2 separate regions of the Homo sapiens genome follow, and region 2 is linked to region 1. The links are contacts of gene promoters, found by promoter capture Hi-C in human tissues and cell types (Jung and others, 2019). All regions are on one chromosome and are shown on one strand. The core of a region is centred on a gene start or on the middle of the fragment in contact, and the rest is flanking DNA. Distances in the headings are between cores, read along the strand shown. Region 1 holds the start of TRAF6 (TNF receptor associated factor 6). Region 2 has its middle 22 kb from the start of RAG1.

What was found. Contacts are between HindIII fragments. The study calls those that stand out against the background at their distance.
Region 2: a contact is called between a fragment that was not itself captured here and the fragment with the promoter of TRAF6 in region 1, in 1 of the 25 tissues and cell types used here (H1 embryonic stem cells).

Annotation. Positions count from the first base shown.
Region 1 is chr11:36,508,842-36,514,711 of GRCh38, forward strand. TRAF6 (TNF receptor associated factor 6) reads right to left here and starts at 1,431. Exons shown (of 7, transcript NM_004620.4): 1 at 1,207-1,431. It also overlaps a transcript of RAG1 not described here. RefSeq lists an enhancer at 1,250-1,299. The HindIII fragment of the contact is 11,968 bases long and covers 1-5,870 here.
Region 2 is chr11:36,543,508-36,549,395 of GRCh38, forward strand. It overlaps a transcript of RAG1 not described here. Among named protein-coding and RNA genes, the nearest start is that of RAG1, 22 kb to the right of the region's middle. The HindIII fragment of the contact is 4,252 bases long and covers 1-3,869 here.

The sequences.
Region 1 (5,870 bases), core at 181-2,680:
AGGCAAGGATTTGAACTTCTCTCCAAATCTAAGTGTCCAAAAGTTTACCGGCATCACATGCCCAAATTTATCACAGAGAAGAGCTCATGTTACAATTCTGAAATATTGTGGTGCATGCAGGCTGAAACTCTGATGTGATCCTGTACCCACCACATGCCGGACTCCTTCCTAGAGTCACAAAAGAGGCCACATTGTTCCTGCCTATACACTCAACCTCAAAATTTGAAAAGCCCCTCTCCCTTCCCTAGTAATCAAAGGAGAATGAATGAAATGATAGCGGCCAAGTTCACAAGGCCAACACAGAATTTCTTTACCAGTTTTTCTCGTTTCTACATGGAACCTGTGTAACAAGACATTCAGTAATAGTAATCTGCTCTCAGAGAAAGAAACAATTAAATACCATACAGCGAAGCTGCTAATACTTTATTTAGGTGCTTTCTGTTCACATTCAAGACAGTCCTAACTCAGCTGGAGTTCCCCTTAAGCCAAATACTAGGAACAGCTTTATCAACCCGGCGTCTGGAACAATCGCTCGAACTACCGAGTTTAGGGGCGGGGGAGAAAACATTCGTGTCATCTGAGCCTTTTTTTTTTTTTAAACTCGCTGCCTGAGACTTCTATAGAGTTCAACAGGGAATCCAAAAATAGCTTTCCCATGACAGTGACAGCCGGAGTCGCCAGGAACGTAAAGGATTTTTTAAAAATTTAAGCAGGTGTTTGCTCCAAGGAGCGGACAACTGCAGGAGGCAATTTCCTTATCTGGGAAGGGGAAAAAGCGGAGTTGAGGGGAGCGAGGTTGAGTAAGGCGACGCGGGGTTTTTTAGGGGGTGGAATGAGCGAGGAAGAGGAGGCCTGGGGAGCAGAGGTCAGGGGACAGGGAACGGTGTCCCCGACCTGTGGGAAGCGTGGGGACAGAGGCTGCGTCCCGACCTGCAGGAAGCGAGGGGCAGGGAACGGTGTCCTCGACCAGCGGGAAGCGAGAGGACAGGGGCGGCGTCCCCGACCCGTGGGAAGCAAGCGGGTAGGGGCGGCGTCCCTGACCTGTGAAAAGCGAAGGGACAGGGGAGGCGTCCCCGACTGGTGGGAAGCGAGGGGACAGGGACTGCGTCCCCGACCTGCCGAGAGCGAAGGGGCGGGGGGCGGCGTCCCTGACCGCTGGGAAGCGAGGCGGCGGCCGCCAGGAGGAGGCGCCTGAAGGAGACTCACCGTTCTAGTGCGCGGGGAGGCCGAACCAGGAGGGCAGGGCTCCCCCACCAACCGCACGACTCCGCTCAGCCAAGGCGCTGGTAGAGGACGGACACAGACACTGCGCGCCGAGACGAGGCTGCTTGGACGGCAAACTCTGGATCCAGTGGGAGCCTTCGCCACCTTCGCTGGCCGCCCGCAGGCCAAGCCCCAGCTGCGGACGCCACTGCTTCCGCCTTCTCTGCTGGCTGCGGGGAGCGAGGGGCAGGGAGCGCGCCGGGGAGGAGACAGAGCGGCCGAGTTCGGAGAGAGTGCCCCCTGGCGGTGATCCTCCAGGCGGACTGTGGCGCGGGCCGGGCGGCGCCCCCAGCCCCGCAGCCTGGCTTTCTTCCTGCTCGGGTGTCCCACCTGGGAATTCGTTGCACCGCACAGCCGAACCCGAGTGTGTCAATGGGTGTGTGTTGGAATGAGGATGGCGACGAGAAGATCCCTCCCGGAATAACTTAATTTGGTGAGCAGTGGCGACAGTAGTAATCCCAAACTGCGCTTTTATAGCACCCCTCTCCAAGCAGGAGAAAACCCCAGCTGGGCTAGATCGCTTGACCTTCAGGAATTCTTAAACCCCTCCCCAGCTCCACCCTCCTTGCCCAGGAAGTTTCTGCGATCCATAGAACCCTCTATTATTACCTGCTCTTCCCCTTCATCCGGTCCAAGGGAGTCAGCCCTTGCCTTAAATATTTCTTTGAATTTCCTGCCAAGAACACCAGCGCTTTGTCTTTCTCTGTCATGGGAAAACTATTTTAAATTCCCTGTTTAACTGGTCATAAACGTCTAGAGAATGTACCACGCGTTTTGCTGGAGAAGCACAAAAGAGTTTCATCCACCTCTGCATATTTGGTTCATCGTCCACCTCTTAGGGGAGGTTTTCCAGGATAGTAGTCATGCGTATGTATCCTGAAGCCAGAATGCTTGGTTCCAATCCGGTTTTTCCTACAATAAATGTGTGATTCAGGTAAAATACTTAATCTGTACTTGTTTCAGTTTTCTCATCTCGTATTAACATGGGGATAATAATAGTATCTACCTCACAGGGTTGTTGGAAGGATGAGATAAAATATGTAAAGAAATTATTTAAAACTATCTGGCCAGGCACAAATAGGCTCATGCCTATAATCCCAGTACTTTGGGAGGCTAAGGCAGGAGGATCACTTGAGGCCAGGAATTTGAGACCAGCCTGGGCAACATAGTGAGACCCCATCTTTACACAAAATTTAAAAATTACCTGGGTGTGGTGGTGCATATCTGTAGTCTCGGCTACTCTGGAGGCTGAGGTGGGAGGATGGCTTGAGCCCTGGCAGTCAAGGCTACAGTAAGCCATGATTGCACCACTGCATTCCAGCCTGGGTGACAGAGTGAGACCCTGTCTCAAGGAACAAACGAACAAACAAATAAACCCAAAACTAGGACATAGTATGGGCTCAATAAATGTTACCAATACTATATGTCCTACTTTCTGGCTGCCAATATTCATTAAAAATGCTTCTCTTTTTAAGAAGAATTTATCACTGGTTCTCAGGTTCTGTCAACCCCCTTTTAAAAGATTGTATTTTGAAACACTTAAGACATAAAAAGAGCACAAACATCTGTGTGCTCACCACCCAGCTTTAAAAAATAAAACATTGCCAGCCTTTGTGTATCCCTCCCTAGAAGCTCCTCTTAAAAATTAAATCTCTTATGGGATGGAAGAAAAGATCATTATATGAAATTGAGAGCTGGAGAAAAGGAAGAGCAAGAGAATCAGAGTTCCCTCCACTTCTTAGTGTGAGCTCTGGGGCAGGTTACATAACCTCCATGAACTACAATGACCAAAAACTATAAAAAAGGGGATAATGTCTACCTTACCAGGCTTTTGTCAGTATAAAATAATAAAAATCTATTGTGAGAGACTCCAGCACCAGGCTTTCAAAAAGATTAGGTGTTCTGTGTATGTTTCTTTACATTGTTTTCATAAGTGCCCTCAAGGGGCCTTTTCCTACTCCTTCAAATCCAATTTATTCAATATAGGAGAGAGTTTTAGTGCTCATCCATGCCTTGGGCACACAGGAAACTTACAAATACCATTTCCCTTTGCAATCAGGCAGGGCCACGTGACTAGTTCTGGCCTGTGAGCTATGACGAGAAGGATGCATATCATTCCTAGGTCAAAGCGTTTTATTTTCATTGCAAGACTGTTTCCCCTGTGTGCAACCAAGGAGCAAAGGGCAACTACAAGAGGGAAGAGATGTATCACTCAGTTGATGTATGAAGGGCAGTTGCCTTGGAAAGTCAATCCACCTGCATTGGACTTACGAGAGCAGGAAACAAACGCCTGTTATTTTAAGCCATTGAGATATTGGGATTGTCTTTTCTGCTGCATAGCTAAGCCTACTTTATGCACAGTTCTTTCTTGAATTCTTTCCTGATACTCGAAATAAGAAAGCCAAAGTTCTACTCCTGCTTCTGACTCTCATTGAAATTGGGACCTGGTCAGATGTCCTTATCTATAGAGTTGTAATGAAATCTATCCTGTCTTCTTTTCAGAGCTGTTATGAGTTCAAATGAGGTCATATGGAAAGATACCTTGCAAACTAGGAAGTCCTACGCAGATGGAAATAATTGAATATTCCTATTAGTAAAGTTACCTATATATAGCAACCACAATGATCAGGTTTCCTGAAAAGCTGCTATTAGATTGGTGCAAAAATAATTGTGGTCTTTGCCTTTACTTTTAATGGAAAAAATGCCAATTACTTTTGTACCAACCTAATAATTTAAAATATTTTGTCCAGTTGTCCTTATAAGTAAATCAAACATGAATAAAGATATAGTCTCCATATCTTCTATAGTTTCAATGCGTCCCCTAAATTTCATGCGTTGGAAACTTGATCCCCAATGTGGTGGTTTTGGGAGGTGGGACCTAATGAGAGGCATTTGGGTCGTGGAAGGACACTCTTCATGAATGGATCAATGCCATTATCATGCGAGTGAATTCGTTATTCTGGGAGTAGGTTCCTTATAAAGGGACAAGTTTGGTTCAGCCCCGTCTTTCTCTCCATCTCTTTCTCTCTTGCCTTCACTTTGCCCTCCAACATAGGATGACACAGCAAGAAGGCTCTTGCAAGATACCAGCCCCTTGAGTTTGGACTTCCCAGCCTCCAGAACTAAGCCAGTAAATTTCTGTTCATTATAAATTACCCAGTCAGTGTTATGCTGTTATAGCAGCACAGATTGAACTAAGACAATATCATTCCTGGGTTGCTGTTTCTCACATCCTATTTGAAAAATGAAATAGGAAATAGTTTTACACAGCTGAAGGTAGAGTTGGGAAGGTAAAACTTCCCCAAACATTTGGAAATAAGATGGCTCTCTACAAGTTGAATTATAAAATTATGACACAATTCATTAGCTCAAAATACACTTATTGAACAACCATTATAAGTGTGTGTGGCAGCCTGCCTTGAAGATGGTATTTATGCCCACGTGTAGTTTGCTTCCACAATACATAGGGCTGCCTCATGTAACAGTATATTAGTCTGTTCTCACACAGCTGATAAAGACATACCTGAGACTGGGTAGTTTATAAAGTAAAAGAGGTTTAATGGACTCACAGTTCCACATGACTGGGGAAGCCTCACAATCATGGTGGAAGGCAAAAGGCATGTCTTACATGGCAGCAGACAAGAGAGAGAATGAGATCTAAGTGAAGGGGGTTTCCCTTTATAAAACCATCAGATCTTGTGAGACTTATTCACTACTACAAGAACAGTATGGGGGAAACTGCCCCTGTGATTCAGTTATCTCCCACTGGGTCCCTCCCACAACACGTGGAAATTAGGGGAGCTACAATTCAAGATGAGATTTGGGTGGGGACAGAGCCAAACCATATCAAACAGGATATTGTGGAAATGACGGAATGTGCCTCCCTAGACTGGGCTATAGAAGACATTGTAGCTTCTGTCTTGCTCTCTCTTATTTGCTATGAGGGAAAAGCCCTGCCCTGTCCTGAGGACACCCAAGTAGCCCTTTAGAAAGGCTGCTGAGCAACTGAGCCCTCTTGCCAATAGCCAGACGATTGCTGAGGCTTTCTGCCAAAGCCTTGTGAGTGAGTCATCCTGGAAGTGGATCTTCCAGCCCCAGTCAAGCCATCAGATGACATCTTGACTGCAATCTCACAAGAGACCCTAAGCTGGAACCTACAAAAACTGTGATATAATAAATGTTGTCTTAAGCTCTAAAGTTTGGGTAATTTGGTACACAGCAATAGATAATTAATAGAATGTGTTAGGCACTGTTCTTAGCCCAGGAGATACAGCAGTGCAGCAGTCCCCAAACATTTTGGAACCAGGGAGTGGATTTTTGGAAGACAGTTTTTCTACAGAGCAGAGTGGGGCAGAGGGATGGTTTTGGGTTGATTCAAGTGCATTACATTTATTGCGCACTTTATTTCTATTATCATTACATTGCACTATATAATGAAATAATTATACAACTCACCATAATGTAGAATCAGTGGGATTTCTGAGCTTGTTTTGCTGCAACTAGACAGTCCCATCTGGGGGTGATGAGAGACAGTGGCAGATCATCAGGCATTAAATTCTCATAAGGAGTGTGCAACCTAGATCCCTCACATGTGCAGTTCACGAAAG
Region 2 (5,888 bases), core at 494-2,993, 35 kb after region 1:
GGGAGGTGGTTCTGTTGTGGCACTTACCCTGCTCTTGACTGAGTTAGAAGTGCAGCTTGGGCACAGGGGCCCTTCTTGGAGGCACTTACCAGCCTCTCTCTTGTTTGGCCTCTCTCTTCCATCTCTCCTTCTAACCTCCTTCTCTAGCTCAAGAAATATTGATAACATGCGGGAATAAAATGACTTACCTCTTAGTCCAGATTTATTATTTATGGAATACACTAAATTCAGAAGGCTTAGGTTAAGGCAAATCAACCTTTTTGGGGGGAACTTCTTTTCTGTGTAATGAGTGTCAACAGACTAATTAGAAGATGCTATAAAGATTTGTGGACAAGTTTTTATGTGGACATAGTATTCATTTCTCTGGGATAAATGGCCAGAAGCGCAATTCCTTGGTTTTATGGTAGTTGCATGTTTGATGTTTTCCAATTTAATAGACATTAAAAAAGAGTTTCAAAGATACAGAGAAATTGAGAAGATAGTACAGAGAATTCTCTCATAGCCCTACCTGGTTTCCTTTATTAACAAATTATATACATATGGAACATTTTCCACAATTCATGAACCAGTAAACTTCCTTTAGCCACTTTTTTAGGGTAGGTACAATTGGCTGAATAATGGCCCTCAGAGATATCAGGGCTTAATCCCTGGGACCTATAAACGTGGCAGAGATGGCAGATGTGATCAAGTTAAAGATTTTAAGTTAAGGAGGTTGTCCTGCATCATCCAGATGGACCCCAAATACAATCCTAAGTGTTCTTATCAGAGAAGAAGGGGGATTATTAACATAGAAGGGTCGACAAGGAGACTACTGAGGCAGAGATTGGAGTGGTGTAGCCACTCTGATAGAACACAAAGAAAGCAGCTCTAGGGGCTGGAGATAAGGAACGAATTCCACCCTAGAACCTTTCAAAATTGAAATGGTACCAGAGGAATCTAAGAATTTCTCTCTAGTCTAGTTCCCCTTTCTGAAGACAGCCAGTGTTAACAGGTCCTTGTGCATCTTTCCAGAGATATCTGATGCATATATAAGCAAAATATATGTTTCTATATTTTCCCTCTCTTTTCACCCAAATGATGTCATGTACATTGTTCTGTATCCTGCTTTTTCCCACTAACAATAACTCTTGAAGACCGTTGCATTTAAGTAGTTTTCTTTTTCTTTTTAATGGTTGATGTGGTCTGGCTACATGTCCTCACCCAAATCTCGTCTAGAATTGTAATCCTCATGTGTCGAGGGAGGGACCCTGTGGGAGGTGATTGGATCATGGCGGGGCTTCCCCCATTCTGTTCTCATGATTGTGAAGGAGTTCTCATGAGATCTGATGGTTTAAAAGTGTGTGGCGGATCCCCCCTCGTTCTCTCTTTTCTGCAACCATGCTTCCCCTTTGCCTTCTGCCATGATTGTAAGTTTCCTGAGGCCTCTTCAGCCGTGTGGAACTGTGAGTCAATTAAACCTCTTCTCTTTGTAAATTACCCAGTCTCAGGTAGTTCTTTATAGCAGCGTGAGAATGGACTAATACAATGGTTGCATTACATTCCGTTGAAAAGATAGATTAGAATTTATTTATCCAGTGACAACTTTAGCTGTTCTCAGTATTTTATTATTACAAACAGAACTTCAATAAATAATTTTTTACACATATCTTTTTTTGCATTAAAGTATATCTGAATATTCTTGGGATAAATTAAATAGATGTGGAATTTGTAGATCAAACAGTGAGTGCATGGGCTGAATTGTGTCCCCCCAAAATTCACATGTTAAAGCTTTAACCTCCAATCTGTCTGTGTTTAAAGATAGGATATATGAAGAGGGAGTTAAGATTAAGGGAGGTTATAAGGGTGGGCTTGAATTCAATGTGACTGGTGTCACATTTGTAAGAAGAGAAAGAGACACCAAGAAAGTGAGTCATAGAGAAAAGACCATATGAGGGCACAGCAAGATGGTCATCAGCAAGCCAAGGAGAGAGGTCTCACCAGAAACCAATTCTCCTGACACTGTGACCTCCAGAACTGTGAGAAAATAAATTTCTGTTATTTAGGCCACCCAGACTGTGATATTTTGTCACAAAAGCCCTAGAAGACAAACAGTGAATATGTAATTTTGACAATTATTGCCAAATTGCTGTCCATACAAGTTGGATCACTTTGTACTTTTTCCAGCTTCTGTTCTTCTATTGGCAGACATTTAGGCCATTTTCAACAGATTATAACAAACCATGATGCAATTAACATTATAAACTTAAAAAAATAAAGTTTAAGCTGTGTCTTAGAGATTCTGGTACGTTGTGTCTTTGTTCTCATTGGTTTCAAAGAACTTATGTCTTAATTTCATTACTTATCCAGCAGTCATTCAGATGCAGGTTGTTCAGTTTCCGTGTAGTCGTGCAGTTTTGAATGAGTTTCTTAATCCTGAGTTCTAATTTGATTGCACTGTGGTCTCAGAGACTGTTTGTTGTGATTTCCATTCTTTTGCATTTGCTGAGGACTGTTTTACTACCAATTATGTGGTCAATTTTAGAATAGGTGCTAAGAAGAATGTATAGTCTGTTGATTTGGGGTGGAGAGTTCTGTAGATGTCTATTAGGTCCACTTGGTCCAGAGCTGAGTTCAAATCGGGAATATCCTTGTTAATTTTCTGTCTTGTTGATATAATATTGACAGTGGGGTGTTAAAGTCTCCCACTATTATTGTGTGGGATTCTAAGCCTCTTTGTAGGTATCTAAGAACTTGCTTATGAATCTGGGTGCTCCTGTATTGACTGCATATATATTTAGGATAGTTAGCTCTTCTTGTTGCACTGATCCCCTTACCATAATGTAATGCTCTTCTTTGTATTTTTTGATCTTTGTCGGTTTAAAGTCTGTTTTATTAGAGACTAGGATTGCAACCCCTGCTTTCTTTTTGCTTTCCATTTGCTTGGTAAATCTTCCTCCATCCCTTTATTTTGAGTCTATGTGTGTCTTTGCACATGAGATGGGTCTCCTGAATATGCCACATCGATGGGTGTTTACTCTTTATCCAATTTGCCAGTCTGTCTTTTAATTGGGGGCATTTAGCCTGTTTATATTTAAGGTTAATATTGTTATGTGTGAATTTGATCCTGTCATTTTGATGCTAGCTGGTTATTTTGCCCATTTGTTGATGCAGTTTCTTCATAGTGTCAATGGACTTTACAATTTGGTATGTTTTTGCAGTGGCTGGTACTGGTTTTTCCTTTCCATATTTAGTGCTTCCTTCAGGAGCTCTTGTAAGGCAGGCCTGGTGGTGACAAAATCTCTCAGCATTTGCTTGACTGTAAAGGATTTTATTTCTCTTTCACGTATGAAGCTTAGTTTGGCCGATTTGAAAATTCTTTTCTTTAAGAATGAAGAAAAGAATTTTCTTCGGGCTTGCAGGGTTTCTGTGGAGACATCCGCTCTTAGTCTGATGGCCTTCCCTTTTGTGGGTAATCCGACCTCTATCTCTGGCTGCCCTTAACATTTTTTCCTTCATTTCAACCTTGGTGAATCTGACAATTATGTGTCTTGGGGTCGCTCTTCTCAAGGGGTATCTTTGTGGTGTTCTCTGTAGTTCCTGAATTTGAATGTTGGCCTGTCATGCTAGGTTGGAGCTAAAGCAGTGTTTAGAGAGAAATTTATAACACTAAATGCCCACAGGAGAAAGTGGGGAAGATCTAAAATCGACACCCTAGCATCATAATAAAAAGAACTAGAGAAGCAAGAACAAACAAATTCAAAAGTTAGCAGAAGACAAGAAATAACTAAGATCAGAGCAGAACTGATGGAGATAGAGACACACAAACTCTAAAAAATCAATGAATCCAGAAGCTGGTTTTTTGAAAAGATCAACAAAATGGATAGACTGCTAGCCAGACTAATAAAGAAGGAAAGAGAGAAGAATCAAATAGACACAATAAAAAATGATAAAGTGGATATCACCACTGATCCCACAGAAATACAACTACCATCAGAGAATACTATAAACACCTCTATGCAAATAAACTAGAAAATCTAGAAGAAATGGATAAATTCATGGACACATATACCCTCCCAAGACTAAACCAGGAAGAAGCCAAATCCCTGAGTAGACCAATAACAAATTCTGAAATTGAGGCAGTAATTTATAGCCTACCAACCAAAAAAAGTCCAGGACCAGATGGATTCACAGCCAAATTCTACCAGAGGTACAAAGAGGAGCTGGTGTCATTCCTTCTGAAACTATTCCAAACAATAGAAAAAGAGGGAATCCCCCCTAACTCATTTTATGAGGCTAGCATCATTCTGATACCAAAACCTGACAGAGACTCAACAAAAAAAGAAAATTTCAGGCCAATACCCCTGATGAACATCGATGTGAAAATCCTCAGTAAAATACTGGCAAACCTAATACAGCAGCACATCAAAAAGCTTATTCACCATGATCAAGTCAGCTTCATCCCTGGGATGCAATGCTGGTTCAACATACGCAAATCAATAAACGTAATCCCTCACATAAACAGAACCAACGACAAAAACTACATGATTATATCAATAGATGCAGAAAAGGCCTTCATAAAATTCAACACCCCTTCATGCTAAAAACTCTCAATAAACTAGGTATTGATGGAATGTATCTCAAAGTAATAAGAGCTATTTATGACAAACTCAGAGCCAATATCATACTGAATGGACAAAAGCTAGAAGCATTTCCTTTGAAAACTGGCACAAGACAAGGATGCCCTCCCTCACCACTCCTATTCAACATAGTATTGGAAGTTCTGGCCAAGGCAATCAGGCAAGAGAAAGAAATAAAGCGTATTCAGATGGGAAGAGAGGAAGTCAAATTGTCTCTGTTTGCAGATGACATGATTGTACATTTAGAAAACTCCGTCTCAGCCCAAATCTCCTTAAGCTGATAAGCAACTTCAGCAAAGTCTCGGGATACAAAAATCAATGTGCAAAAATCACAAGCATTCCTATACAGCAATAATAGACAAACAGAGAGCCAAATCATGAGTGAACTCCCATTCACAATTGCTACAAAAAAAATAAAATACCTAGGAATCCAACTTACAAGAGATGTGAAGGACCTCTTCAAGGAGAACTACAAACCACTGCTCAAGGAAATAAAAGAGGACACAAACAAATGGCAAAACATTCCATGCTCATGGATAGGAAGAATCAATATTGTGAAAATGGCCATACAGCCCAAAATAATTTATAGATTCAATGCTATCCCCATCAAGCTACCAATGACTTTCTTCACAGAATTGGAAAAAACTACTTTAAATTTCATATGGAACCAAAAAAGAGCCCATATGGTCAAGACAATTCTAAGCAAAAAGAACAAAGCTGGAGGCATCACCCTACCTGACTTCAAACTATACTACAAGGCTACAGGAACCAAAACAGCATGGTACTGGTACCAAAACAGGTATATAGACCCATGGAACCAAACGGAAGCATTAGAAATAACGCCACAGATCTGCAACCATCTGATCTTTGACAAACCTGACAAAAACAAGCAATGGGGAAAGGATTCCCTATTTAATAAATGATGTCAGAAAAACTGGCTAGCCATATGCAGAAAACTGAAACTGGACCCCTTCCTTACACCTTATACAAAAATTAACTCAAGATGGATTAAAGGCTTAAATGTAAGACCTAAAACCATAAAAACCCTAGAAGAAAACCTAGGCAATACCATTCAGGATATAGGCATGGGCAAAGACTTCATGACTAAAACACCAAAAGCAATGGCAACAAAAGCCAAAATTGACAAATGGGATCTAATTAAACTAGAGAGCTTCTGCACAGCAAAAGAAACTATCATCAGAGTGAACAGGCAACCTATGGAATGGGAGAAAATGTTTGCAATCTATCTATCTGACAAAGGGCAAATATCCA